Regions from separate parts of the Homo sapiens genome. Here regions 2, 3, 4, 5, 6 and 7 are each linked to region 1. The links are contacts of gene promoters, found by promoter capture Hi-C in blood cells and fetal thymus (Javierre and others, 2016). All regions are on one chromosome and are shown on one strand. The core of a region is centred on a gene start or on the middle of the fragment in contact, and the rest is flanking DNA. Distances in the headings are between cores, read along the strand shown.

Evidence for each region. The method cuts DNA at HindIII sites, captures the fragments that hold promoters and counts their contacts. A CHiCAGO score of 5 or more calls a contact.
Region 2: a contact is called between a fragment that was not itself captured here and the fragment with the promoter of WDR64 in region 1, in 13 of 17 cell types (naive CD8 T cells, M2 macrophages, total CD8 T cells and 10 more). The highest score is 13.0, in naive CD8 T cells.
Region 3: a fragment that was not itself captured here is called in contact with the fragment with the promoter of WDR64 in region 1 in 10 of 17 cell types (naive CD8 T cells, naive CD4 T cells, total CD8 T cells and 7 more); the score reaches 10.3 in naive CD8 T cells.
Region 4: a fragment that was not itself captured here is called in contact with the fragment with the promoter of WDR64 in region 1 in 16 of 17 cell types (fetal thymus, activated CD4 T cells, non-activated CD4 T cells and 13 more); the score reaches 22.9 in fetal thymus.
Region 5: a contact is called between a fragment that was not itself captured here and the fragment with the promoter of WDR64 in region 1, in 5 of 17 cell types (fetal thymus, monocytes, total CD4 T cells and 2 more). The highest score is 8.9, in fetal thymus.
Region 6: a contact is called between a fragment that was not itself captured here and the fragment with the promoter of WDR64 in region 1, in 13 of 17 cell types (activated CD4 T cells, M2 macrophages, naive CD8 T cells and 10 more). The highest score is 13.0, in activated CD4 T cells.
Region 7: a contact is called between a fragment that was not itself captured here and the fragment with the promoter of WDR64 in region 1, in 1 of 17 cell types (monocytes). The highest score is 5.0, in monocytes.

Annotation. Positions count from the first base shown.
Region 1 is chr1:241,650,250-241,653,612 of GRCh38, forward strand. It overlaps WDR64 (WD repeat domain 64), which reads left to right and starts at 2,032. Exons shown (of 28, transcript NM_001367482.1): 1 at 2,032-2,380. The coding sequence starts at 2,236. The HindIII fragment of the contact is 1,763 bases long and covers 794-2,556 here.
Region 2 is chr1:241,824,141-241,827,191 of GRCh38, forward strand. No RefSeq gene overlaps it. Among named protein-coding and RNA genes, the nearest start is that of EXO1, 23 kb to the right of the region's middle. The HindIII fragment of the contact is 1,724 bases long and covers 485-2,208 here.
Region 3 is chr1:241,784,109-241,787,318 of GRCh38, forward strand. All of the region lies in intron 23 of WDR64 (WD repeat domain 64), which reads left to right. Among named protein-coding and RNA genes, the nearest start is that of EXO1, 62 kb to the right of the region's middle. The HindIII fragment of the contact is 5,686 bases long and covers 1-3,210 here.
Region 4 is chr1:241,841,117-241,844,329 of GRCh38, forward strand. No RefSeq gene overlaps it. Among named protein-coding and RNA genes, the nearest start is that of EXO1, 5.5 kb to the right of the region's middle. The HindIII fragment of the contact is 906 bases long and covers 1,307-2,212 here.
Region 5 is chr1:241,882,050-241,885,193 of GRCh38, forward strand. All of the region lies in intron 14 of EXO1 (exonuclease 1), which reads left to right. Among named protein-coding and RNA genes, the nearest start is that of EXO1, 35 kb to the left of the region's middle. The HindIII fragment of the contact is 8,246 bases long and covers 1-3,144 here.
Region 6 is chr1:241,803,109-241,806,332 of GRCh38, forward strand. No RefSeq gene overlaps it. Among named protein-coding and RNA genes, the nearest start is that of EXO1, 43 kb to the right of the region's middle. The HindIII fragment of the contact is 8,352 bases long and covers 1-3,224 here.
Region 7 is chr1:241,490,239-241,493,340 of GRCh38, forward strand. No RefSeq gene overlaps it. Among named protein-coding and RNA genes, the nearest start is that of FH, 28 kb to the right of the region's middle. The HindIII fragment of the contact is 1,002 bases long and covers 1,352-2,353 here.

The DNA of each region.
Region 1 (3,363 bases), core at 782-3,281:
ATCTACCTTCACACAATCTGACCACTTCGCACAACCTCCGTCACTAGTGCCCTAATCTCAACCACTGTCATCTCTTACTTGCATTACTGAAATTTCCACTTAACTGCCTTCCCGGCTTCTACCCTCTCTCCCTTTCAGTTTATTCTCCGCAAAGCAGCTGGAATGATTCTTTTCAAATGCACGTCAGATCATGTCACTGTTCTGCTCAAAAACATCCCATCTCAGAGTAAAAGCCAAAGTCCTAAAACAGCCAATAAGATCCTACGTGATCTGGATGCCACCCCCTGACTCTCTTGCCTTCTCTCTCTACCTCTCTCTCTCATCCCACACCACCTCAGTCACACTGGCCTCTGTCGTTTCTCAGATATGTGAAGCACACACCAATCTCAGGACTTTACGCCTGCTGTCCCTAGAACATCCTTCTACCATTTATCCACATGACTTGCTACCTCACTTCTTTCAGGTTTCTGCCCAGAAATCTTTCTATTAATGGGGAATTCCCTGATCTCCCTACCTCTTTTACTTTGATTTTTACCCCCACCCTAATACACACAAAATTCCTCTCTCTTCGTAGCACAATTGCTCACTGATACATTATTTATTTGTTTGTCTGTCTTCTGCATTAGTCTATAAACTTGAGAAGCTATTTTATTCACTGCTGTATCCTTAGTGTCTAAAACAGCCTCTAGCATGAAGTGTGTATTCAGTAAATATTTCCTAGATGAATTAATGGTGAATGCATTAGAATTGTAGGAAGAGTGGTTCTCCAGACATCACTGTACAGTGGTTTGAAAGCTTTAAAGGAAAAAGGAGGAGAAACAAATGGGGTTGGGGGATTTTTCTTTAAATAAAATCTTACTGCGCTCTCCTAACAGATAGTTAGAGGTGGACACCAAGAAGACAGTACTGGAATTGGAGGTGCTCTGAAATGCCATCTGCTTCATCTCTGAATGCAAGTTCTTGAAGAATGTTTTAAAAGATGGACTACCAAGGGGTAGGAAATTTATCTAACTCACCTAAGCCATAGGAAGTTAACTAATTGTTGAGAAACATTAAACAACTTCTCCTTCCCATAAAAAGTTGAAAATTGGAAAACCGGAGTCAATAGCATTTGGACTAAGTCGGATTGGAGATTGCAATGACTGGGAAGGAGATGTGCAGAAAGGCCTCTTCTAATTCATCTGACCTCTTACCTTGAAAAGCTGTCCTCATAATCAGAAGCCACTCCTTCCTTATCCTTGGCTCACTTTATTATTTCAATCGAAGGACAATGCACAAAGGAAGAAGAGCATTTGTATTCCCTATGACCTCTAAAAATGTTTGTGGTAGAAATGACAGGTGCTGAAATACATTTCATCTTTAGAAGTTCGAATTTCCATATCCAGTACAGTGGCAAGAATAAGTGTGAATATTACTTTTTTTTTTTTTTGAGAGGAAGTCTCACTCTGTCACCCAGGTTGGAGTGCAGTGGTGTGATCTCAACTCACTGTAACCTCTGACTCCCAGGTTCAAGTGATTCTCTTGCCTCAGCCTCCTGAGTAGCTGAGATCACAGGTGCCCGCCACCACATCCAGCTAATTTTTGTATTTTTAGTAGAGACGGGGGTTTCACCATGTTGGCCAGGCTGGTCTTGAACTCCTGACCTCAGGTGGTCCACCCACCTCGGCCTCCCAAAGTGCTGGGATTACAAGAATGAGCCGCCGTGCCTGGCCAAACTTTACTTTCCGCGGTATTGTGAGGAAGGCAAAAGGTTTGAGGTGAGAAGAGATACACGAGGGAGAAAGTATTACCCAGTTTTCTTACTTGTTATTTACTCATTCCTTTTCCCTCTCAAGCAGTATACACAACACACACATGTGCACGCGCACACACACACACAGTCTGTGGGGAAAAAAATATCTCAATCTCCTCCTTATGAAGGAAGTAGGATGTTACAGAGATATTATGATGCAATGAGGACCCTATGAAGGACACTGATGACATTGTGAGGTCAGGATTTTTACTGAAATGTTTGTCTGTATGAAATGCATCAGACCTAAATCAGCTTTCCTCCCTGCTAACATCCTAGTGGCAACTCTTACTCCTACCCGCACTATGGGATTTTAAGATCAAAGGAATTAGACCTAGGGCAAAAACTGAGACAGCAGGGAGGCACTGTAACAACTGGAAAGTTTTCCAAATTGGTAAACTTGCAGTATTCTTTCTGTACAGAAGTAAAAGATCCCCTATGTCCCTATGGATATCAGGAAGGAAAAGCGTCTCAACATGGCACTTCAGATGAGCAATTTCAAAAAGGCTTTGAACAGGTTTGAAAAATTGGTTGAACAAACAGCAGCCCAGAAAAGAGATGAAAGAGCAGGCTTATTTATCCATAAAGAAGGTAAGATCAGTGATTACACGATAGTCCAATTGGGTCTGTTGGTTAGAACTGGAAAATGTTTTAAGCCATCAGAGAGAAGCATCAGAGCTTAATGTGAAAGAATGGGTGCTGAAAGGGGATGAAGACCTCAGTTCTTGTTCTTTCTCTGTCCCTAAATAACAAAGCGGACATGAGGAAGCTTTTGTTTTGTTTTGTTTTTGTTTTTGTTTTTTTTTTTTACTTCTCTGAACCGAAGTTGCTTCAATTGTAAAACTATGGGATTGGATTAAATGACGTCCAGTGTTCTTCTGTAGACGCTGCCATTTGATGGCTCACTGGTTGACCTGGGATGCTCAGTAATGTATAGCACTGCTTTTTCTTAGCCTAAAGATATCATGAGACCATAAAGACTTTCATAAGAAGTGCAGCTTCCTGCCTCACCATGATTCCATTGTCTTGGCCACTCTCCATATCTCTAGGCAGGAATGATCTTGAGGATGCAAGCTAAGGAGAATATGGTGGACAGTGGTCTTACAGGAGGATTTGCAGCAGAGATGCCAGTGCATAGACAAGATTCAAGGGGAGTGGTGTAGTGTACAGCTTTGGCGTATTGAGGACAGCTGTGAAAAATAAAGCTACATGGCAGAGTGAAAGACTAACAGAACAAACCCTGCTGTTGCAATGAAAGGAGCAGAGCCCATATAATTGCTAAAGGGATAGTATAGCCAGCCTCTGAGTGTGCCAGGCTGCATAGTAATTTGTAAGTGAAAATCTTGACTTTGGGTGTTCAAACCCAAGCTGGTATTAATTGAATAGTATTTAATAATTTATAGTCATGTTAATCAATGTCATTATGTTCATTTTATTTGTGGAAAAAATGGGAGCTGAAGATAAATCATTTGCCCAAGTTACCCAAATTCTTTTCTTTTCTTTTCTTTTTTTTTTTTTTTCTGAGACGGAGTTTCATTCCTATTGCCCAGGCTGGAGTGAAATGGTGCGATCTC
Region 2 (3,051 bases), core at 97-2,596, 170 kb after region 1:
TTTTAATGCTACACACCCAGTGTCACTCAAATTGTCTCCCACCCTAGCCCCAGGGAGTCATGCTCCCTCAGTTCCTCCTTACAGTTGCTGGGTAAAGGAGGCTGCATGGATTCTGAAAAGCAAGTCAAGAGGAAGAGCTGCTGACCTAAAAGTACTGTAGAAAACTGAGAGCAAAGGCTAAATGAAAGGATGGCAGCATTTAACACAGATAGAAAAGGATACTTCCTGCCTTTTTCCTGGCTCAAACTATGACTTCGACATGAAGTTTTGGACTGAGTGAGTCTGCCCGGAAGCACGCCATCAGAGGACACGTCAAGAAGCCAGTGAAAGAGAAGTGATGGCCCAGCGCGGGAGAAAGCAGTCACATATTCACATGTACTTTTCTCCTCTTTACTGAGGCGACAGTAAACCAGTGGCACCAGGAGCTGGGATTTGAGGGGCTGGAACTAGGTTGTGACCGGCCTGAAGAAGCAAAAGTCAGGAAAGCTTAGAAGGTCAAGTCCAAGCCACTGTCCCTTCAAGAGGGTGAGAATCCAGCTCAGGGAAGATAAATACCAGCAAGGGGTAGAGGCACTCCTGGAGCCACAGCTCAAAGATGGAGGGAGAGGGCAAAACAAGGCAGGACCAAACAAGAATGAGGCAGGGTGACAGCTAGAAAATAGCCCACCTCCCTTTCCAAGCAAACAAACCACACAAGGCTTCTATGCCCAGTGAAACTTCAAGATGAAGGGAAGGGACAGGAGGTGGGGATGTGGGAGAGGGGTAAGGACCTAGGATCAGCCACAGGGTATAAAGCCAACAGATACCCAGGAATCCATGACAATTCAAATCAAACATCACATTCAAAGGTTGCATTGAGATGATGTATGAGGTTTGCTTCGAAATAATGGAAGGAGAACCCACAGTGTATATATTAAACAAAACTAGACCTTTAACTTCAAACACTGGTATAAAAAGCTATTTTTTAGCCAGGCATGGTGGCAGGCGCCTGTAATCCCAGCTACATGGGAGGCTGAGGCAGGAGAATTGCTTGAACATGGGAGGCGGAGGTTGCAGTAAGCCAAGATCGTGCCATTGCACTCCAGCCTGGGTGACAAGAGCAAGACTGTCTCAAAAAAAAAAAAAAAAAAAAAGCTATTTTTTTAGAAAAAATTCAGAACACTTCCTTCTAAATGGAGATGACAATGGCTAGAAATTGAAAATGATATTCATGAAACATACCAGTTAGCACGGTTAGTGAAGGAGGACACTTCTCATTCTGTAGCTCAAAATTTTCTCTCAATTTATATCTAAATAGAAGTAAGGGAATATTCAAGAAAGAGCGATGTGGTAGCAGAGCATCCTTTATGCAGTGTTTGAGAGCAAAATCAAATGATGTTTCTTTTCCAACATTAACATGTTTAAATAAAGGATAATTCTATCCTTAGACCCTAGGATCTCCTCTTTATAGCTTTTATTAGCAATATTTTATTTATATTATCTTACAACAGCCCTGGGGGATAAGCAGAGCAATACTACTATGCTCATTGTATTGAAGAAAATAAGGCCACATGAGATTGGAAGAACCTGGCCAAAATCCAATGGCCATAGTGAGTAAAAGAAAGTGAAACTCAGAACTTCAAACCCAGGTCTTCTGACTCCAAACCCAGGCCCTTTTCACTATCCTGGGCAACTTAGTCCCATCTCCTGGGTTTCCTCCAGTTGCCAGCTTGGTGTTTCACACTGCTAATCTGCCTGTTAGTCTTTGCAACCTTGACTTAACAAATGATTGAAATGTAGTCTTGTGGTATTCTGGTATTCCAGAATATGATGCTATTTTTAAAGAACCAAGTATTCTTTTGGTATTTTTCTTGATGTAGTGCCATTATTTTGGTATTTAAAAATCTAAACTCTGAATTATGTGCATTATGATATATATTCAGAGAGTTATATACCACATTTAAATTTCATATCAAATTAAGCTGCTTTTAAATAGAAAGCATTCTGACTACACCACTTCCCTTTTAAAACTTGTTCAAAATGTTATCTGGCATTAATTCCAGTTTCCTAAATGACTAGTAAGACTGAGTGTGTTAGTCCATTTTCTTTGTTATAAAGGAATACCTGAGACTAGGTGATTTATAAAGAAGAGAGGTTTATTTTGGCTCACAGTTTTGAAGACTATATAGGAAGAAGGGTGCCAGCATCTGCTTCTAGTGGGCCTCCGGAAGCTTCCAATCATGGTGGAAGGTGAAGGGAGAGCAGGCATATTAAATGCTGAGAGAGCAAGCGAGGGAGGGAGGTTCTGGGCTCTTTTAAACAATCAGGTCTCAGGTGAACTACCAGAGCAAGAACCCACTCATTACCATGGGGATGCCACCAAGCCACTCATGAAGGATCTGCCTCCGTGACCCAAACACTGAAGTCCCACCTCCAACACTGGGGATCACATTTCAACATAAGATTCAGAAGGGACAGCCAAACCATATCACTGAGCATTTGTGTTTTTTTTTTTTTTCTTTTGAGATGGAGTCTTGCTCTGTCATCCAGGTTGGAGTGCAGTGATGCGATCTCGGCTCACTGAAAACTCCGCCTCTGGATTCAAGTGATTCTCCTGCCTCAGCCTCCTGAGTAGCTGGGGTTACAGGCACCCACCGCTGCGCCTGGCTAAATTTAGTATTTTCAGTAGAGACGGGGTTTCACCACGGTGGCTAGGGTGGTTTTGAACTCCTGACCTCAGGTGATCTGCCCATCTCGGCCTCCCAAAGTGCTGGGATTACAAGCGTGAGCCACTGCACCTGGCCTCTTTTTTTATTTATAGTATTTTTATTTTCCCCAGAGTCAGTTTTAGTCTAATCAATTTCCAGAAATCTCAAATGCAATTTGACTGTTGTGGGGGTAGTGGGTGAGGAAAAGGCCTTAAGGAAAATGTAGAAGGACAGAAGTATTAGGGAGAAGAGGGGAAGAAAAGACGAAGAAATTTCCAGATTACTGGTTCTTCTCTTATTTCCTGAGAGCACCAAATTCATTTTCTTAAAGATAGACTGTTCTCTCCTAAGATAATTTATTTTA
Region 3 (3,210 bases), core at 665-3,164, 130 kb after region 1:
AGCCTAGCTAACTGTGTGGGCTTGAGGCTAGTGAGTTAGACAGACCAAAGCCACACAGTGTCCAGGAGGCACTGGTAAGAATTTGGATCCTTCCCCTGAAAGAAATAGCCACTGCACAGAATTTTACGTGGGGGAGTAATATGACCTGATTTATATTTTTGGAAGGTAATGGGTGGGGAATAGATTGCAGGGCAGCAAAAGTGGGAGCAAAGAGACCGGTTTGAAGTCCAGGGTGAATGTAGTGGCTTGGATTAGAGGAGTGGTAACAGCCTGGAAATAAGTGGTTTAGATTTGATGATAGCTATCCAGAAGGCAAAATCAAGAAGACGTGAACTTTAACTCAAAGGGGAGGTAAGTGATAAATGTCAAGAATGACACCTGGTTTATGCAACTAGGTGAATGTTAGAACCACTCATTAAGATACAGGGCTCTAAAAGAGGAAAATGTTTAGAATGTGGAAGGATAAAGAGCTTTAGAACGTTGAATTCAAGATGAATCTTTGGGAGTAAGGTCCTATTTGGAGGCAAAAGGTCAGAGTTACTTCCTCTGTAAGAAAGGACATCTGGGCTGGGTGTGGTGGCTCACGCCTGTAATCCCAGCACTTTGGGAGGCCGAGGCGGGTGGATCACGAGGTCAGGAGTTGGAGACCAGCCTAACCAACATGGTGAAACCCTGTCTCTACTGCGAATACAAAAATTAGCCGGGCGTGGTGGCATGAGCCTGTAATCCCAGCTACTTGGGAGGCTGAGGCAAAAGAATCACTTGAACCTGGGAGGCGGAGATTGTAGTGAGCCGAGATCACGCCACTGCACTCCAGCCTGGGCGACAGAGTGAGACTCTGTCTGAAAAAAAAAAAAAAAAAAAAAAAGAAAGGACATCTGCTGTTTTATTTGCAGGAAAGAGTAAGAACATTAAATGTCATTATTATAGATGTTTTTAACAACTCAGTCCCTTGGTCTCTGCTCCAGCTTATTTTCAGCTACCTATGAGCAGAAGTGTTCATTTGAGTTTGTAACACACACACAGACGCACACACATGGCACAACCACATATGTACATGCCACTGTTGTTGTAAGGTATTCCTTGCTTGTCTTGGTCTGTTCAGGCAGCTGTAACAAAATACCTTAGACTGGGTAATTTATAAACAACAGAAATTTATTGCTCACTGTTCTGAAGTCTGGGATGTGCAAGATCAAGGCGCTGGCAGATTCAGCGTCTACTGAGGTCTTGCTCTCTGCTTCATAAATGATGCCCTCTAGCTGTGTCCTTACATGGTGAAAGAGGCAAACAAGCTCCCTCGGGCCTCTTTTTAAAAGACACTAATTCCATTCATGAAGACTGAGCCCTTGTGACCTAAGCATGTCCCATTTCACATCAATATCACCACTTCGGGGATTAAGTTTCAACATATGAATTTGGCAGGTGGACAAAAACATTCACGCCATAGCACTGCTCACTCCAGTTATCCTTGGCATGGAGAAATTAATTTTATGATTTCTTACAGTGAAAATCTCCCTAGATACTCAGTTCAAAGTGCTTACATCTATTAATAGCTACCTCAGAACACAACTGTCTTCATAACCAAGCCATGTCCCTTTGCTAATACTCACTGCCACTCTCTAAAGAGTTAGGCAGTTTCAACGTTCTAAATCTTGCTTGTCAAAAAGATGAGATTTTTAAATATGAAACAAACATAATTGAGGCTGAACTCTGGGATGCAGGACAGGTGATCAGTCTGTAGACAGAAGTTCAGGGAGGCAAAGTGGGGCTCAAGGTAGCTAAGGTTCTGTATCTGAGGCCCAGGAAATCAAGCTGGGAAGCAGGATTAGTTATTTGGGAGAGCTCCATGCATAGCAGGAAACAAGGAGACTACAGTCTCTTCAGTCCTGCCTAAAGCAGAATAAATTTAGAATTGTTCCGAAGTTAGCCCCTCACCCTTCTAAATTTTACTATTAAAGGGCTGGTCTATTTCTCTTTGGTAAAGGTTCTGGCCAGGCCATGACATTTTTATAATGCTGGAGAATTAATACATGGAAGGGATAGAAGATGCTCATGTTAATTCCCCAGGACACTGTCAAGTGGGAGAAGTCCCAAATAGATACCTCTGTTTCTGCCTCCTTCTCAACATCTACCTCTCTGAGGTGGGAGGCTATTCAGACTTTGCAGAATCTACTCTTAGTTTCTTTAGCTTGCTTGCCCTCCTCCTTTTAGGTCATTGCTGCAGGGCTCATGATGATGATTGCCATCATTTGCCACTCTGAGGTTGAAATCAATAAATAAAAGGAAGATCTTCCAAATACTATTTTATGTTCCCATATGGCCTAGGGCACACACTCCTGCTAATAATACTCTGTATTACTTTAAACCACATGGGCTATTTAGAGGGACCTCTTGGAGTGAAGTGATAGTGAAACAAGGCATATGGATAACGAGTCCCTTCTCTTGCCATCCTCTTTCAGAACTCAGTTGTAAAAATTAGCAGGGTATTTGCACAATAGTAGCAGCTGTGGATGGAGGTTGAGGAGAATTTGATAATAGTAAAAGCAGCATGAGATCCCTCCTCCCTTAAGTTTGGTTGATGCTGATTTGAAAAGTAGCCAGCTGAGATACAGCCCATTCTAAGGCCTAATTCAATGAATACACTGTTAGTTAACAAGTGTTCTGATTAGCTTGAACGGGCAGTGTTATTTTCCCAAAAGAAAATAGAAAGAAAGCAAATGTGGTATACACACAACATGGAATACTAAGCAGCCATAAAAAAGAACAAGATCATGTCTCTTGCAGGGACATGGATGGAGCTAGAGGCCATTACCCTTAGCAACCAAATGCAGTTTTATTATCCTGAAATAACACTGCCCATTTGTTTTCTGGCTTTGACAAATGGGTGTCATAAGTACAGATTCAAACTAATATTTCCCAAAAAGTTTGCAGACTACAGTCTAACTGATAAAAATGTTGGCTGGAGGCCAGGCACGGTGGCTCACACCTGTAATCCCAGCACTTTGGGAGCCCGAGGCGGGTGGATCACGAGGTCAGGAGATTGAGACCATCCTGGCTAACACGGTGAAACCCCATCTCTACTAAAAATACAAAAAAAAAAAAAAAAGTAGCTGGGCATGGTGGTGGACGCCTGTAGTCCCAGCTACTCGGGAGGCTGAGGCAGGAGAATGGCATGAACCCAGGAGGCGGAGCTTGCAGTGAGCCGAGATG
Region 4 (3,213 bases), core at 510-3,009, 190 kb after region 1:
GATATTAGGTGAGCCACTGAATGATCCAGGCCTCGTCTTCTGAAGACCAAATGGAAATGCATGTGAAAGCTCTTGACAAACTATACATCGTGTCCATGACTACGTTTTGGGGGCTTTTTCTCACTTCACTGTTGAGTGTCGCAGTCCAGACACTAGACTCTATACAATTTAAATGGATTATCTCATGTAATCTTCACGATCTTATGAAGCAGTTCAATTAGCTCTATTGTTCCTCCCAGTTTTCAAATAAGGAAAATGGAAAATTATTTATTTATTTTCATTTTATTCTGTTGATCAAATTATTGGGTCAATGTGCAATGGCTCACTTAGACTAGTGCAGTCTTGGTTTAAGTCATTTCAGAGGTTACATTATGCTCCGCGGTCACCCCAATCAAATAAAGAGATGGGGAACTTTTTCTAAAGTCAGCAAATTAACAGCTAATACATTACACAGCCCAGATTTGAATTCAAGCAAGGTAGGCTAGACATTAAGCTCTTAACTGAGCTGGTATAAAAGGGATAATGGAAGCTATCTATGGAGATATACTGATAGATGTATATATAGATATACAAAAGACCAATGGAAAAACTGGCCACAGATGTTTGTTAAAAATACTTATTAGATTTTAAATGACGGAATTAAAGCATGTGTTTATCCTCTGCTTCTGAAAATAGAACTGCTGGCTGAGTAAGTCCCCTGGAGGCTGAAAGACCAATAAGTGGACAGAAATTCATTACTCTTTTATTCTGAGACCAGCTGCTTCATGCGGAATCTGGCACTTACCATACAAGGACCACTCTTAGCTTTATAATCAATGTGACGCCTTTGTTTAGCTGAGCCTCTCCATCTTGTATTTCTCCTCACTAAGCATTCTGTTGCTGGCTGTAATTCTCACTGTGTTGATGTATTGATGTCTATTTCATTGTTCCAGGTTATATTTCACTGAGTTTTCAATAGAAATGTCCCTTTTTGCTACCTAGTGAGTGGGTGTCCTTCAGCAGCTTACCACTTTGGAACTATTATTCTGATATCCCATTGCAAGTCACACTTTGTCATTAAAGTCAAAAGAGCAATATCCATTTCACTCCTATGACTAAGTCCCAAGTTCACCAAGAAAGTGGGTAGCATTCTCTGAACTTTTTGTATTTTTAATTTTTTTAAAAAAACAAAAGCAAAAAGTTGAAGCATGGAGATAAGCAAAAAGTTGAAGCATGGAGATAAGCAAATTCACTTGGGCCATGAGAAAGTCGTGGTAACACTGAAAATCATGAGAGAAGCAAGTGCTGCTCCAACGGTAAGAAGAGAAGCTTCCTCAGTCTGAACCACTGGGCCCAGGATGTATGACTTATTAAAGATCTCATACAAGAATGAAGAGTTAGCCTGGCTGTGATTGCAGAGGCCCTCTCCCACTCATTCACCTTGAGCTCACCTGGGAGTAGCTTTGAAGGCCAAGGTCAGAAAAATGTATCTTTGGATCCAAACATTCTCAGGATTGTGCCTATTGTCTTTTTGATTCCACAACTCCATGACAGCCTGCTACCAGCTGGAACTATGTATTCCTCCTCCTCTCTGGATCTTTGCTATTCACTGGGTACATTCTTCCCACTATGTGTCATAGTGAAGAATATAGCCATTTGGAGTCAGACAGATACTAGCTTGAATCACATCACATAACAGCTTTAGGTCTATGACACTATTACCTGCTTCTCTCTGCTTCCGCTTTTTTCTTCTGTAAATGAGGGTAGCAATAGTTATCTTCCAGAGCTATTACGAGGATTACATGAGGTAGCACATGCAAAACATGGTAGATTATAAAAAAAGTTGTTCCTTTTCTTTCTTTTTCCCAAATCATCCAAAGGGGATTTAGTCAATTGGTAACTCTGAAAATGTTAACATAATATCTATCTCTCCACAGATAAATACATATGCTAGCTATCCAAAGGTAAGTTAAAAGCAGATTCCACAGCCAAACTACACAGGGTTCAAATCCCTTTGTACTTCAGCTGTCGCACTTGTAAAATGGGGATAACAAATGTGCCATCCTCATAGCATCGTTAGGAGTGGTAAACAAATTAAGGATGTAAATATATACAACTAACCTGAAAAATACTAATTGTTCCCTAAGTATTATAATTCAAGACTCTAATAGTAACACTTATTATTTAGATAGATAGGTACTGTCGATGCTAATATATCAATCACCTCCAAGAAAGCTTTGCCAAAGACCTATGCCAGTTTCCCTAAAATGTATATTTTGGAGCCAGAGATAATATTTTTTAGAAGTGTCATTCTGCAAAAATGCATTTCATAGTTTTTTTTTTTTTTGGTGAAGGACAAAAACAGAGGCTATTTAAAATCGTTTTCCCTCTGCAGTAGGGAATGAGGACAGCATTTACTCTTTCTGCATTCTCTGTCCTAGATTATTCAAATAATACTCATCCTGATAACTTTGGAGTTGTTTAATTTCACTGTAAAACAGCTTTGAAAACAGCTATATTGCCCAAACATCTAAGTTCTAAAAACATCAGTGTCTCTTTTAGATCCAGGCTGTTAGCTAATTTCAATATTCATTTGTCTATTCAACCAGAAGTTTACTGGAGTTTACTATGTGCCAGACAATGTTATAGGAGATAGGTAAAAATCCCTGCTCTTATAGAGCTTTCATTATAGTGAGGTGAGAGATGCTCAATTAACAAATAGATAACTAGAATATGTAATTTGTCCAATTGTATGTATCATGGAGAAAAATAAATCAGGGAAAGGAAAATTAGGTATCCCAAAGTAGGGCTAGGAATTGCAATTTTAAATAGCATAATTGGAGAATATCTCACTGAGAAGAAACCTATGTGTATTACTGAGCGAAGTAAAGGACCAAGCTACGGGGCTATCTGTTGGAAGAGCATTCTGGGAAGAAGGAACAGCGTATGCAAAGCCCTAGAGGTGGGAGTGTACCTGGCATATTCAAAGAATGGCACGGAGGCTAGATGGCTAAAGTAGAGTGGGCAAGAGCAAGAAGAGTGGGAGTTGAAGTCACATGCACATGAAGTTACAAGAATGTTCACAGAAGCAGTAGTAATAGAATCTTGAAACCACTCAGATATCTATCAATAGTGGAATGAATAAATTATAATGTACTTACATAATGGAATTCTACATTGAAATACAAACAAAAAACAAACTATAGGTGCTCTCGATAATACAGATGAATCTCA
Region 5 (3,144 bases), core at 130-2,629, 230 kb after region 1:
CAGAAGCGGTGTATGCTTACAACTAGAAAATGAGAAATACAAGCAGAATTAAAAATCAAAATACCTGTAGTCTCATTTATATAAAAATGTCTACTTTAAAACTTTATGCTTGACTGTAGGTGTTTAAGTTGTGAAACTTATTTTCTCTTGCAGTGTATATGAAAGATCACTTTCCAAGTACTTTTAGTCATTAATGTAATGACTTTATAATATGCAGTTGTATAGGTTTGGTCAATCCCCTTATTTTTGTCATTTACCCTAAATTTTTTTGCTCTAGCAAATAATACTGCAACCAAGATCTTGTGGATAAATATTTGAGGACATGTTCTTGATTAGTTTGTAAGGATGAATTGCATGGAGTGGTATTACTGGTCCCAAGGCATGTATGATTTAACATTGATACATACTGCCAAAAGGCCTTCTAGAAACTGTGTACCCATGATAAACTAGGTTTGTTGAATCAAAATATATAAATATTTGTGTTACTACATAGTAAAGCATATTTTATATATTAAGCACGAATTAAAGCATATTTTATATATTAAATGTTCTTGTTCATCAGTATAAAAACACCATTTCCTAACTTAAAAGATGGATAAAGGTCATAAACAGGTCACAAAAGGAAAAGTACCAATGGTTGATTAATATGTGTTTAACCTCATTTGTTTAACCGTATGTTTAACCTCATTAGTAATCAAGTAGTGCAAATTAAAATAATAAAATAGTTTCTTGCCTCTTCATATTTCAAAAAAATGTTTTTAATTATACTCATTTTTTATGAGAGTATAGTGAGATAATCACATGTTTTAAAAAGTAAGTATTGGTCTGCCATTTCTAGAAAAAAATTTGAAAGAGTTCAAATAATTTAAACCAGTAAGTGCATTCTAGAACTTTAGCCTAAGGAAACATTGAGAATTTAAATACAAGAATACTTAATACTGCATTGGTTATAATAGTGAAAAATTGGAAATAACCTAAATAACAATAAGGGAGTGAGTTATTAAATAATCATTGGTTTTAGCTCTTACTGGTAGAAATATAGGTGAATTTTTTTCTGTTCTTTTTCTTGTGTTTTTCTACCATGAGCATATATTATGTTTCTAGTAGCATAAAAACTTCTTACTTTTTAAAATTTTAATAAATGGCCCTGGCTATCCATTTGAAAGAAGATGTAGTCTCACACAATATAAATGTAAATTCTACTGTAGTCAATATGGGTTGCTATAACAGAATACCAGAAACTGGATTTGCTTAAATGATAAATATTTATTTCTCACAGTTCTAGAGGCTGGGAAGTCCAAGGTCTGAGTGAGAGCCCACTTCCTGGTTTGCAGACAGATGCCTTCTCGCTGTGTCCTTACATGGTAGAGGGAGAGAATATCTCTTTTGTACCTCTTCTTAAGGGCACTAATCTCATTCATGAGGGCTCTACTCTCATGATCTAATCACCTCTCAAAAATCCCACCATCACATTAGGAGTTAAGGGGTTAGGACTTCAATATGAATGTGAGGGAGACACAACATTCAGTCCACAGCAAATTCCAGTACATTAAAGATACAAATATGAAATATGTAAATATGAGATTATTTTTTAAATTTTTGAGCAAGAAGTTTTTTGCAATCATATCTACTAACTTGAAAAGACATTCATTATTAGTGAAAAGGAAAAATATGTTATTAACAATATGTATAGTGTTTTTGTTTAAATACTTTAAAATATTCATGTACACATTTGCATGTTTGTGGCATCCTATTAAGAAGTCTGGAAAGATACATGCAGAATTATTTACAATGATGGATAGAACTGGAGATGTAGAAAGTACTTTTCCTGAAGGAGTTATGTCTAGATAGTAAACCATCATATTATTATTATTATTCTCAGACATTTGCATTGTCAGGGATTTAACTACCACTTCTGTTTTGGTGACCCTTCAGGTGAGCTCTCCCTGATACCCATCTTTAATACCTAAAATCAAACTCGTGTCTTTTACCTCTATTTCTTCTCGGAACGTTTTTTGTTTTATCTATTAAATAAAATTATATTATCTGCCACTTAGTTTCAAAATCCTAAGGTTGTCCTTTTTCTTGATAACTGTCAGTTTGATCCTTCTACAGCAGTTAGAGAAAAACAACCAAACATCGATACCTCTCCAAATTCTAACGTTTATTTCTTTGCCTTCTTTTTTCTCCCTCACTTTTTCCCCATCACAACACATATTTAAGGATTTCATCTTTACTGTGTGAACCTTTATTTTGTTTTAACTTTTTCATTCTTCCTACACACACTGCCAGATTCATATTGTAAACCTTTTTTAATATACCTCATTCTTACTATCTTAAGAAACAATAACAAAACTTCATTGTCTCCATTCTGTCCACAGGGTAAAAATCAACCCTTAGTAGAAACAGCCTAAATGTCAATAGAGGTTTGTTTAAGTAAGTTATGGCATATATATACAATGCAAGAACAGGCAACCTATTCAAAATAAAATTCTATTTCCTGTGAACTGAAAAAAATCTCTAAGTTACATCATTAAGAGGAATCAAGATATATTAAGTGAGAAAAATGAAGTGCACAACAATGTGTACTATGCTGCCTGTGTGTGTGTGTGTGTGTGTGTGTGTGTGCACGTGCACGTAAGTCAGTGGATGCATAGGAAGCTGGGAGCAGCAATTGCCTCTGGAAAGGGAGGCAGCGAGAGACATTCATTTTGCTCTCTGTTCCTTTACAAAAGAGAGAACTTTTAAATTTTATGCCAGGTTTACATATTACCTGTTAAAATAATTTATGATGACTTCTGTAATAGACTTTTATAAATAGCACATTTTTACCATTGCTCATGGGTTATTTTGTTCTTATGTATAAAGAATAGTTTGGCCGTGTGTGGTGGCTCATGCCTGTAATCCCAGCGCTTTGGGAGGCTGAGGCGAGCAGATCACAAGGTCAGGAGATCGAGACCATCCTGGCTAAAACGGTGAAACGCCGTCTCTACTAAAAATATAAAAAATTAGCGAGGCGTGGTGGCGGGTGCCTGTAGTCCCAGCTACTCGGGAGGCTGAGGCAGGAGAATGGCGTCAACCCGGGAGGTGGAGCTTGCAGTGAGCCGAGATCGCACCACTGCACTCCAGACTGGGCGACAGAGT
Region 6 (3,224 bases), core at 66-2,565, 150 kb after region 1:
GAGTGTCTAAATGGTCTAAGACGGCCTCCTTGTGTTTGATGCTGACTACTGGCTGGACTTCTCTTTCTGTGTGATCTCTCATCTCCAAAGAGCCAAGGGGCCAGATTACAGTCTGTAATTCCAGAACTTGGGGAGGCTGAGGTGGAAGGATCACTTGAGCGCAGAAGTTTGAGACCAGCCTAGGCAACATAGCAAAACTCTGTCTCTACAGTAAATACACAAATTAGCTGGGTGTGGTGGCACAGGCCTGTAGTTCCAGCTACTGGAGATGCTGAGGTGGAAAGATCACTTGGGCCTGGGGTGTCAAGGCTGCAGTGAGCTGAGATCGCACCGCTGCACACCAGCCTGAGTGAGGGAGCGAAATCCTGTCTCAAACACAAAACAAAACAAAACAAAAACACAAAGAGGCGAGACCACAATTCTTCACATAATGATCTGATGGTTTCAAGAAGGCAAAAACAGAAGCTACAAGATCTCTTGAAGCACTGAGTACAAAAGAAAAGATAGGTAAATTGAATTATATTACAGTTTAAAATTCCTGTTTACCAAAGAGAGACTATTAAGAAAGAAAAAAGGCAAGCTGTAGAATGGCAGAGATTTTCATTACCTGTAACTAAGAAAGGACTTATATCTAAAATATATAAAGAACTCCAACAAATCAATAAGAAAAATCAAGGCAATCCAGTAGGATAGGCAAAAAAAAAAAAAAAAAACCATGAACTAACACTTCAGAGAAGAGGTTATGCAAATAGTCAATACATATATTAAAAAATGCTCAACTTTCTTAATAGTAATCAAGGTAATGCTAATCAGAACCATATTAGATGAAAGATTCAACCAAAAACAAAAAATACCCTCCTGGGATTAATAATCAATTATACCCAAGGTTGTTGAATGCAAGATTAATACACAAAAGTCAATTGCTTCCCTATTTACCAGCAATGAACACGTGGAATTGAAATTAAAAACACAATACTTAGGCAAAAACCTAACAAAATATGTAGAAGAACTATATGAGGAAAACCCCAAAACTCTGATGAAAGAAATCAAGTAACTAAATAAAGGAGAAATATTCCATGTTCATGGGTAAGAAGATTCAATATCATCAAGATGTCAGTTTTTCCCAACTTGATCTAAAAATTCAATGCAATCCCAACCAAAACCCCAGAAAATTACTTTGGGGATATTGAGGAACTGATTCTAAAGCTAATATGGAGAAGCAAAAGACACAGAATAGCAAACACAATGTTGAAGAAGAAGAATAAAGTTGGGGGACTGATATCAAGACTTAGTATAAAGCTATCGTGATCAAGACAGTGTGGTACTGGCAACAGACATAAGAAATAGATCAATGGGACAGAATAGAGAGCCCAGCACCAGACCCACATAAATACAGTCAACTGATCTTTGACAAAGGAGCAAAGATAACACAATGGAGAAAAAGATACACTTCCACACATGCTGCTGGAACAACTGGACATCCACGTGCAAAAAATGAATTCAGAAGCAACCTTACATCCTTCCCAAAAATTAGCTCAAAATGGATTATAAGCCTAAATGTATGATGTAAAACTGTAAAACTCCTAGAAGGTAACATAGGAGAAATTTTAAATTTCCTTCAATTTGGTAATGATGTTTTAGATACAACACCAAAGACACAATCTATGAAATAAGGAATTGATAAAGTTCACCTCATAAATAGAGCCTCTCTCTCTCTTTTTTTTTTTTTTTTTTTTTGGAGACAGAGTCTTGCTGTGTCGCCTGGCTGGAGTGCAATTGCACAATCTCTGCTCACTGCAACCTCCACTTCCTAGGTTCAAGCAATTCTCGTGCCTCAGCCTCCTAAGTAGCTGGGACTACAGGCACATGCCACCACACCCTGCTACTTGTTTGCATTTTAGTAGAGACAGGGTTTCGCCATGTTGCCCAGGCTGGTCTCAAACTCCTGAGCTCAGGCAATCCGTCCACCTCAGCCTTCCAAAATGCTAAGATTATAGGCATAAGCCACCATGCCTGGCTTTGTAAACTGCACTTCATTAAGATTAAAATTATCTGCTCTGTAAGAGACACTGTCAAGAGAATGAAAAGACAAGACAAAGACTGGGAGAAAATGTTTGCAAAAGACACATCTGATAAAGAACTGTTATCTAATATATAAGAAGAACTATTAAAACTCTACAGTGCCAGGCATGGTGGCTCAGGCCTGTAATCCCAGCACTTTAGGAGGCCAAGATGGGTGGATCACTTAAGGCCAGAAGTTCCAGACCAGCCTGGCCAACATGGTGACCCCATCTCTACTAAAAATACAAAAATTATCAGTCATGGTGACACATGCCTGTAGTCCCAGCTACTCGGGAGGCTGAGGCAGGAGAACTGCTTGAACCTGGAAGACAGAGGTTGCAGTGACAGTGAGCCAAGATTGCACCGCTACACTCCAGCCTGGGCAACCGAGCAAGACTCTGCCTCAAAATAAATAAACATAAATAATAAAATTCGACAGTAGGCCAGGCGTGGTGGCTCACACCTGTAATCTCAGCACTTTGGGAGGCCAAGCTGGGCAGATTGCCTGAGGTCAGGCATTCGAATCCAGCCTGGCCAACATGGTGAAACCCCGTCTCTACTAAAAATACAAAAATTAGCGGGGCATGGTGGAGCGTCCCTGTAGTCCCAGCTACTTGGGAGGCTGAGGCAGGAGAATCACTTGAACGTAGGAGGTGAAAATTACAGTGGCAGTGAGCTGAGATCGCACCACTGCACTCCAGCCTGGATGACAGAGTGTGACTCTGTTTCAAAGCAAACAAACAAACAAAAAACCCAACAGTAAGAACACAAACAACTCAATTTTAAAATGAGCCAAAGACTTTAACAGACATCTCATCAAGGAAGATATACAGTTGGCAAACAAGCATATGAAAAGATGCTCAACATCCTATGTCATCAATGAAATACTAATTAAAACAATGAGAAACCACTATACATGTATTAGAAGGACCAAAATCCAGAACGAGGATACCACCAAATGCTGGTGGGGATGTGAAGCAACAAGAACTCTCATTCATTGCTGCTGGGAATGCAAAATGGCACAACCACTTTGGAAGACAGCTTGGCAGTTTTTTAAATAAAACTAAACATACTCTTACCATATGATACAGCAATTACACTTCTTGTTATTTACCCAAAAGAGCTGAAAACTTATGTCCACACAAAAACCTGCATGCTGATGT
Region 7 (3,102 bases), core at 603-3,102, 160 kb before region 1:
ATTCTTGTTTCTTCTGGGACATACTCCATCAAACATCCCTTCTCTTCTATCTTCGGTGTATTTTCACTTCAAGTCTCTTTATCAGTAAAAAGTTCAGGGTTTAGTATCTTTTTAAAAAAGGAAGAGAAGGAAGAAAGGAAGGAAGAAAGGAAAGGAAGAGGGAAAATAAGCAGGAGTAAAACTTTCCTGGACTTTCCTAGTCCTTCAAGCTAAAGACCTGCCTCTTTCCTTTCTTTCCAAATATCATGAAAGAGCTGAAGGAAAAATTTGATGGATTTGAGAATGCTACGAAAAATGCAAATTTTCTGCATGCCAAAACATTCTGCACACCCAGTTATAAGGCAAACAGAAAACTGGGAAAAAAATATTTACATGAAATATGTCATAGGGTCTATGAACTTCATACATACGAAATTCATTCAAATGCATATAAAAACACTAACATCCTAAGAGAAAAATAAAGTTAAGGAACAGGAAATTTATAGAAAAACAAATGACTGATAAATATGTAAATAATTTGTCACTATGATATTAATCAAAGAAATTCAAATAAAACCATAAGGTACTTAAAATTTTAGTTCAGCAATTTTTTGAAATGACAATGATAATTGTTGGCTGAAAAAGAATCCTCATACAATTGCTAGTAGCACCATCAATTTATACCTGTTTCTTCGAAAAGAGCTCAGTAATACAATCAATCATCAAAATTCGCAGATTCCATATTTGCTAATTCACTTACTCACAAAAATGTTACCCCAAAATCAGTACTTCTGGTGCTTTTGCAGTCATTTGTGAACATGCACAGAGTGGCAAAAAATGTGGGCCATTTGATGTGCACATTCCCAGCCAGGGTCAAACAAGGCGAGGCTCTGGCTTTTTATGTCAGCTTTTAGACTATAAATACATGTCCTGTTCATGGTCTAATTCATGTTTTACTCATCAGTAGAAGAGTTAAATAATGCCATCTTTATATCAGTCATCACGTTTCAAATAGAAAGTCAATTATTTCCAGTAATATCTGGAAGTTATTTTTGTTGAGGTGTTGAAGGTGAAACAATATCGTGCATGTTATTGTTAAGTTCTATTAAAAACTTCAACACTGAAGATACTGAAGATAAAGTAATTTGATATAGAAGTAATACAGAGACTTATTTTGGTGGAGCACACAGTTGTTGTAAAAGCAATGTTTTTACTAAATTAAGAAGCCGGTGGAACAAAAGTGTATTTGGAACTGGTTGTGGTCCAAACACAATTCAAACAAGCTGTGATATTTTCCCAATTGAAATAGAGACTGTCTTTGTCAACGTGTATCACTATTTTTATATACAATTTTAGAGTAACTGAATCAAAAAGCTTTGTGATAAAGCTGATGTCAAAAACAAAATAGGTTGGTGGTACACACATTTCCTCCAGCTTTTAGAATTACTTCATAAATCATCTTAAGCATCCTACAGTGGAATAGTTTCGTGAATGTATCTTCTAAACTTTCGTTTTGTGAATGTATCTTCTAAACTTTCGTTTTGTGGGTTTTTTTTTTTTTTTTTTTTTTTTTTGAGACAGAGTCTCGCTCTGTTGCCCAGACTGGAGTACAGTGGTGCAATCTCGGCTCACTGCAACTTCTGCCTCCTGGGTTCAAGCAATTCTTGTGTCTCAGCCTCCCAAGTAGCTGACTACAGGTGCACACCACCTTGCCCAAGTAATTTTTTGTATTTTAGTAGAGATGGGGTTTCACCATGTTGCCCAGGCTGGTCTCGAACTCCTGAACTCAGGCAATCCACCCGCCTCGGCCTTCCAAAGTGCTAGGATTACAGACGTGAGCCACTGTGCCCAGCAGTAATTTGTTTAATATTTAGTGTATCAGACCAAATAATGGCTGTCAAAGATATATAAGTCGTAACTCCTAAAAATTGTGAACGTTACTTTATATGGCCAAAAAGGGCTTCACAGATGTGATTAAGGATCTTGAGACTGGGCAATTGTCCTATATTATCCTAGTGGACCCTAAATGCCATCACATGTGTCCTTGTTCTTATAAGGGAGACAGAGGAAAATCTGACACAAGCAGAAGAGGAGGAGGCAATGTGACCATGAGATCAGAGACTGGAGTGATATACCCATGGGTGAAGGACTGCCGCAAGCACCAGCCCTGTGCAACTGATTTCAGCCTTTTGGCCTCCGGGACTGTGAGATAATAAATTTCTGTTGTTTTAAGCCATCAAATTTGTGGTGATGTGTATGGTAGCCACAGGAAACTAATACAGTTGGAAATCTTTAATCTAGGTATTTAACAAGTGTAGCACCAAAATTTCAGGGTTTTTTGTCTCTTAAATTTCAATTGCAATGATTGAGAAAAAGCTTGCCAACAGGAAGACATTGAAATCTGTCTCAACAAAAACAAGAACCGAACAAAGTAAATGGTGAGAGGTCAAATCATGCATGAGATTTAACTTGAAAAATCTCCACATTTGAGAAAAATTATTTGATGAAATTCTGACTTACAATGTTGTGCAAATTTGTATTCTCTATTGGAATAGAATCACTTGAGAAGCCTTACAATTTTGCAGCATTTCAATATGGCAAATTAACCGTAAATAGGAACACTTTATTTAACAAGTTCTGGGTTTTTTTTTTTTTTTTTTTTTTAGTCATCAAATTAAGTTAGTCTGAGTGGAAGCAAAAAGAAAATATTAAGTTATTAATACATTTCAGTACAAAAAATGGTATTGAAAGTATCTTTCATTTAGTAGAATTTTCTCTGAGGTTTTCCGGTACATCAGCAACTGTAGAGAGACTAATTGCCCAATTAAAAATATTGTAGTCTACAGAGGAGTTCACTGAAAATATCAACATTTTACATTTATTAACCATAAAGGCAACTTAAAGAAGATTGTAGGCAGTTTTATGGAAGAAGTGAAAATATTAAGACCCTACTGGAGAGAAAACTGGTGTTTTTTGTTGTTAGAGACAAGGTCTCCCTCTGTCACCCAGGTTGGAGTGCAGTGACATGATCATAGCTCACTGCAGCCTCCAACTCCTGGGCTCAAGCAACCCTCCCACCTCAACCTGGAGATAATTATTTTTGAAATTAGCTTTTGAGTAGCA